Linked DNA regions of Homo sapiens: region 1 is linked to region 2. The links are contacts of gene promoters, found by promoter capture Hi-C in blood cells and fetal thymus (Javierre and others, 2016). All regions are on one chromosome and are shown on one strand. The core of a region is centred on a gene start or on the middle of the fragment in contact, and the rest is flanking DNA. Distances in the headings are between cores, read along the strand shown.

Region 1 (2,977 bases), core at 358-2,857, 44 kb after region 2:
TAAAGCCACACGTTTGTCGATTCCCCTGCTCGGGTGTTTGCGCGCCCTCTCCGTCGCACGGCTCCGTGTGCTGGAGACCCCACGGGACCGAGTAGTCCCCACCCTCGTGGAAGCATGTTCCCGTAATAGCAGAGCAAAGGGATGATGGTCTTCGGAGGAGGGCGCTGGCTCAGGCACCCCAGGGACGCTTTCTCTTTCCGTGTGCTGGAAGACCTGAATGCTTCAGAGCCTAAATTATGTGGGAAAAACGTGTGTGTGTTCCAAAGCTGGAGTGAGATTTCCAAGGCTTGTATGAGGCACTTGGCAAGCTTCACTTGTGCCCTAAAGCACAAAATACCAGGGCTTGGGGTGAATTTGGTGATATCCAGAGCTGGCAGCTTTGTTGGGGCTGGTCACTCCCCAGCCCTGAGGACTCTGGGGAAGGAATGCCTGTCGTGAGCGGAACCAGCCAAGTTCACACATGGCCACCTGCCAACCTGACCTGTGTGTTGAGCCCCGGCCCTTCTCGATCAGAAAGGAGGTGTCCCGATCAGGGGGAGCACATGGGCTGGGAACTTGTGGAACCCGGTGTGTATGACTCGCTCCGTGATTCATAACAAGGCATTTGCTTTCCTGGGCCTTGGTGACCTGTCTGTGAAATGGGCACAGGAGCCCAGCTCTTGCATAGACAGAAGGTGAGGGCATGGGGTAGGGGGAGTGGAGCCGTGGGTGCGGCACTAGAAGGATGAGAAAGGACCTATGGCCTCCAGCTCCGGGTTCAGGGCTGTGTCCAGGTTCAGGGGACTGTGAAATGCCAGCAGCTTCTAAAACCTTTGGGTTCTTTAAGAAAAGGCTAATTGCAGAGGATGCTCACTGATGAGGGCGAGGATCAAAGCCCGTGCTGCGTCAGCGTGGTGGCCTGCCAGCTCCAGGCTGCAAAAGTCCCTCGTCATTTCATTTCCTTCCATCCCTGTGGAGCGAACCCTGTTGTTTGCATTTTTTGGATGAGGGTACAGGCTCAGGCTCAGCTCACACGGTCCCCGGATGCCCCTGCTGTGCTCCGAGGTTGGCCTGCGTCTTTTGCTCCTGGGTCCTTACGTGCCCTGTCACAGCCAGCCCTGCCCTGGAGAGAGAGGCCACTGGGAAAAACCCTGAGAGCAGGCGGGCCTCACCTGAATAGGACTTCATTCGTTGATTTTAATTTTTACTTACTATTTTTTTTCTTTGTACAACAAACATTGTCTGATAAGGGACTTCACTCTTCCAACTTCAAGAAAGGCTCCTCCCGGGTCTGGGTGCTCCAAGGGCCCCATTGGGCCGATCCTCTGACATCACTTGGTGTGGCTTCCTCGGAAGCTACAGGCCCCTCGGTCCATGGCCCCTTCACGGCAGGCAGTGGACTGGCCGGCGGTGGGCCACTCATTTTTCATACACATTTTTTTTTTTTTTTTTTTTTGAGACGGGGTCTCACTCTGTCGCCCAGGCCGGAGTGTGGTGGCGTGATCTCGGCTCACCGCAAGCTCCGTCTCCCGGGTTCACGCCATTCTCCTGCCTCAGCCTCCCGAGTAGCTGGGACTACAGGCGCCTGCCACCATGCCCGGCTAATTTTTTTGTATTTTTAGTAGAGATGGGGTTTCACCGTGTTAGCCAGGATGGTCTCGATCTCCTGACCTCGTGATCCACCTGTCTTGGCCTTCCAAAGTGCTGGGATTCCAGGCATGAGCCACTGTACCCGGCCTTTTCATACACATTTGAAGAGGACTTTAAAGTGTTCTTGAGTCTTTCCTGGATAATGAAAGGTATCCCGACGGTGCTGTTCCATCATATTTGTCTCAGGTCTCGTCTCTCCTTGCTCTGCCCTCGTTGCAGGAGAGCCTGGCTCCCAGGCCTGCAGGCCGGCTGTGGATCTCCGAGAAGCCACTGGGTGGGACTTTGTTCTCTGCTGCAGGGGGAAGCTGTGAGGGAGCACTGGGCCCCCGCCCTGAGCATTAGTACACCGTCCTGCAGGGTCTATCTGAACGCTAGCCCGGTGGGGAGGGGGGCCCAGGCCTCATCATGGAGAGGGTGGTGGTGAGGAGTAAGCCCCCAGGTCTGCACCAGGGTGCCCCAGGACACCCTGGACTGGGAGTTTAGGAGACCTAGGACGCATCCTGGGGAAGTGAGGCAGGTGTGTGGTGTCTTGTTCTTTCCGGGTTAAAACCCACAGCGTGACCCGTGGCTGGGATCCCCCTGTTCGTGAGTTCTCAAGGAAGGGGAGCCTGCAGGGTGTGACTCACACCTATCTCAGGAACACAGAGGACAGAGAGGGATGGAGACGGCCTCCCTCTGTGCTCCTGGCCTCTTTCTGGGGAGTGCGTGTTCAGCCCTGATGGCAGCCAAAGGTTTGTGCCAGGCTGGTCCTGCGCCCGTGAGAGGGTGCTGGTCTGCAGAGATTGGTGACAGATGCCCTGGAGGAGGGGAGTGGAGCCACAGGTGTCTCCCAGCGGCTGTGGCCGCGCGTATTGCCAGCAGCAGTCTAGGGTCCTAATACAGTGAGGTGAAGGAGGAGGTGAAGTGCTAATACAGTGAAGTGAATTAGGTGAAGTCCTAATACAGGTGAATTAGGTGAATTAGTGAATTAGGTGAATACAGGTGAATTAGTCCTAATTAGGTGAATTAAGTGAATTAGGTGAAGTCCTAATACAGTGAGGTGAAGGTGGAGCGGAGGGCCGAGGAGGGCCGGCCTTCCCTCTGGAAGCAAGTGTGCTGTATGCCCACGGGGGACTGGAGGAGGTGGGTGTTCCGGTCACTGCAGTTCTTACATCTTTGCTGTGTGTGGGAGGAGGAATTATCTTTGTGCTCTGAAGTGTGATGTATATGAGGGGAGAGCAAAGGGCTCAGACTTTGATCTGCCAAGCTGTGTCTCGTGAAGTCAGGTATTCTGCAAGGGAAGCTTTTTTCTTAAGAAACAAATCTCATCAGTGTTCAGGACAAGGCTGTACTGTTCCAACCACCGCAG
Region 2 (3,097 bases), core at 594-3,093:
ATTGTATATTCACTGCTCTGCACTATTTTTATTTTTTAATTTAACAGATCTTGGAGACTATATCCTATCTGTGTACACAGAATTATCACATCACAACTTTAGAAAATGTTTTAAATTAAAAATGCTAAATGAATGTTCTAGAGTTTATTTAACCAAGTGTCTGGTTGTTCTCAGGCTTCCTGTGATTATAGGTATAGCTGTAAGTCAGCACATCCCTGTATCCACACATCCCGTGGTGCCTGTGAGAATTTATCTGTGGCACAGATTACCCAAAATGACATGAGGGGTGAGAGGTTTTACAAATGGTGAATTCCACGAGCTTTGCAAATCTTAACTCCTTTTTCAAGAATAAGGGAACTGTGAGTAGGACAGGTGCACGGTACTTTCATTTTATTTTAGTCTAAGTATTTTCTGAAATAATTTGAGGAGGCTTAAAGGGAGGTGCAAGCTGGGTGCGGGGGCTCATACTTGTAATCCCAGCACTTTGAGAGGAGGAGGTGGGAGAATACTTGAGCTCAGGAGTTCGAGATCAGCCTGGGCAACACCGTGAGGCCCCATTTCTACAAAAAAAATTTTTTTTAAATTAGCCAGACATGGTGGTGTGTGCCTGTGGTCCCAGCTACTTGGGAGGCTGAGGTGGGAGGATCACTTGAGCCCTGGAGTTCAAGGCTTCAGCGAGCTATGATTGTACCACTGCACTCCAGGGTGGGCGACAGAGCAAGACCCTGTCTCAATAATAATAAAAATAAAAAAAAAAAAAAGGAAAAAAAGGGGCACAGTAGACAGTACCAGTACTTGGTATTTTAAATGGTTTTCAAATGAAGCCCACCCAAGCTCAGCAAGTCCAGCCGGGGCCTGAGGACCTGAGCAGGCGCCAGGTCACACAAGGTACCGGGCGCAGGAGGCGGAGCCCGCAGCGGGCCCTGCCCTGACAGCGGCACCTGCGCGGCCTCCGCAGGTTCTGGGATCGGCCGCTGGCCAGGTGCAAGGGAGGGGGGACGGCAGCCGCTGTCCTGGGGCTGAGAGGGCTCCGCGGTCTGGAGGGGACGGCGTCAGCGCCCGCGGGGGTTCGCAGGGCAGCCCCGGGGCGACCCCCACCCCCGCCACGGTCAAGTGTCGATACAGTGTTGCCAGCCGGGTGCCAACTATGAATAAGTCCAAGGGCGCGGCACGTGGGCCGAAACGCGATCCTTCCGCGGAGCCGCTGCGCGCAGGGCCGTCCCCACCGAGCCCGCCGCGCGGCGACCCCTGACGGCGACCCTAAGCCCCGGCCGACCAGGGCAGGAGCTCGCGCGCGAAACTTCCCCGGCGCCCGCAGGAGACCCCGGCAGGGGAGATGGCGGGGCCCAGGCAGAGCTCGGAGGCCCCTCCCGGCCCCACCCCGCGCCCCGGCCCCCTCTGCCCCCGACCCGGTCCGGGGGAGCCCTCGCGGGACCCCAGCCTGGTCCTTCGCCGCCTCCCCCCGTTCAGCCCCGACCCCCCTGATCCCCGCGCCCCCCGCGGTCCCGGCCCGCCCCCTCCCCCAGCCCGGGCCCCAGCCCCGTCCGTTAGCGGATCCCACGCAGGCTCCGCGCCCGGCCCCGCCGGCGCCCTCGGCCCACACCTCTCTCCGCGCGCGTGTCCCGCCGTGTCGCCCCCGTGTCCCCTCCGCGTCCCCCCCCGCGCCGTCCCCCCGCGTCCCCCCCCGCGTCCTTCCCCCGTGTCCCCCCAGCGTGTCCCTCGGCCGCCCCGCGCGCGCCGGCGGAACTGTGGGATCGCCGCGCACAGGAAGTGGCGGCGGCGGCGCGGCCGAGGGCGGAGGGCGGAGGGCGGCGGGATGGGGGCCGGGGGCGGCGGGCGCCGCACTCGCTGAGGCCCCGACGCAGGGCCGGGCCGGGCCCAGGGCCGAGGAGCGCGGCGGCCAGAGCGGGGCCGCGGAGGCGACGCCGGGGACGCCCGCGCGACGAGCAGGTGGCGGCGGCTGCAGGTGAGCACCGAGGCCCCCACCCGAGGTCGGGCCGCCCCCCTCTTCCCCCACGCCCCGCCGCCGCCCGAGGTCGCCCTCCCGCCGCCGGAGGTCGCCCCTGCCCCAGCCGTCCGACCTCGGGCCGCCCGGGGCCCCGCGCCGCAATGGGCCGGCCGCGCTCCGCGGGGCGCGGGGCCTGGGAAGGCGCGGGGCCGGGAGGAGGTCTGGGCCCGGGTCCTGTGCGCCCCCCGCAACCCCGGCCTCCCCGGCGGCCTGGTCCAGCGCGAGGCCCCGGCCGCTTCCCGCAGCAGCCTCGGTGGCGCTGGGCCCAGCGGGGAGGCCCGGGGGTTCGGGGCGCCCGGGAGGGGCCCGGGCCGGGCCGAGGGAGGGCGAGTGGGTTCCCGCGGGGACGTCCCATCCCTCCGTCCTGGACTCTGCTCCGGGCCCCGCTCGGCTCCCCCGTGGACAGGACGCGCCCGCCGCCTGGTTTCGGGGCGCGGCGGACCCGGGACCCCCCCCAGGGGCCTCCTCCTCGCGCGCCCAGGCCAAGGGAGCAGTTTCACTTTTGCCGCTCCGCGCGGGGAGGGCTGCGGGGCCCGGGGTTGGCTGTGGGTTCGGCCCGGAGACCGGCGGCGCGTTTGCACCGGGCGGGTCAGGGGATGGGGTCAGTCCGGGGGCAAGAGCCGTGGGGGCGAAAACCCACTCCTGGCCACCCCAGGACCCTTGGAACATTGGTCCCAAGTACTTAGGAAAGGAGGGTTATTAGTATTTGAAGGCAGTTAAAAATGGTGCAGTGTTTTTTTTTTTTTTTTTAACTTTGAGAGAAGTTTAGTGACATGGGGAAAATGCTTTTATAAATGGCTTCCCAGACCTTTAAAAAAAAAAAAGCACAATTTTAAAAGCTTTGTCTAGGAGAATACTTGAGCAGTTGGGTTCTTTTTCCTGGGAAACATGATCTTAGTAGAAGAAAGATGTGGGCTGTTGGCCTCCAGACAGAGGGTGATGAGCATGCGGCTCTTATTAAAAATGAAAGCCAACGCCGAGAGCCTGCTGGGGGCTGGGAGGTGGGGCGGGCGGCGGGCCCAGGCTGCTAGAGGGACCCAGGATCCTGCAGCTTTTAAATTGCAGGCGCGGCTGCTCCGACTCGACTCG

What was found. The method cuts DNA at HindIII sites, captures the fragments that hold promoters and counts their contacts. A CHiCAGO score of 5 or more calls a contact.
Region 1: a contact is called between a fragment that was not itself captured here and the fragment with the promoter of AGPAT3 in region 2, in 1 of 17 cell types (erythroblasts). The highest score is 5.1, in erythroblasts.

The regions. Positions count from the first base shown.
Region 1 is chr21:43,907,879-43,910,855 of GRCh38, forward strand. All of the region lies in intron 2 of AGPAT3 (1-acylglycerol-3-phosphate O-acyltransferase 3), which reads left to right. Among named protein-coding and RNA genes, the nearest start is that of AGPAT3, 44 kb to the left of the region's middle. RefSeq lists an enhancer at 494-995. The HindIII fragment of the contact is 2,603 bases long and covers 307-2,909 here.
Region 2 is chr21:43,863,380-43,866,476 of GRCh38, forward strand. AGPAT3 (1-acylglycerol-3-phosphate O-acyltransferase 3) reads left to right here and starts at 1,844. Exons shown (of 10, transcript NM_020132.5): 1 at 1,844-1,966. RefSeq lists silencers at 903-1,262, 1,813-2,162, 2,283-2,602. The HindIII fragment of the contact is 5,864 bases long and covers 1-2,845 here.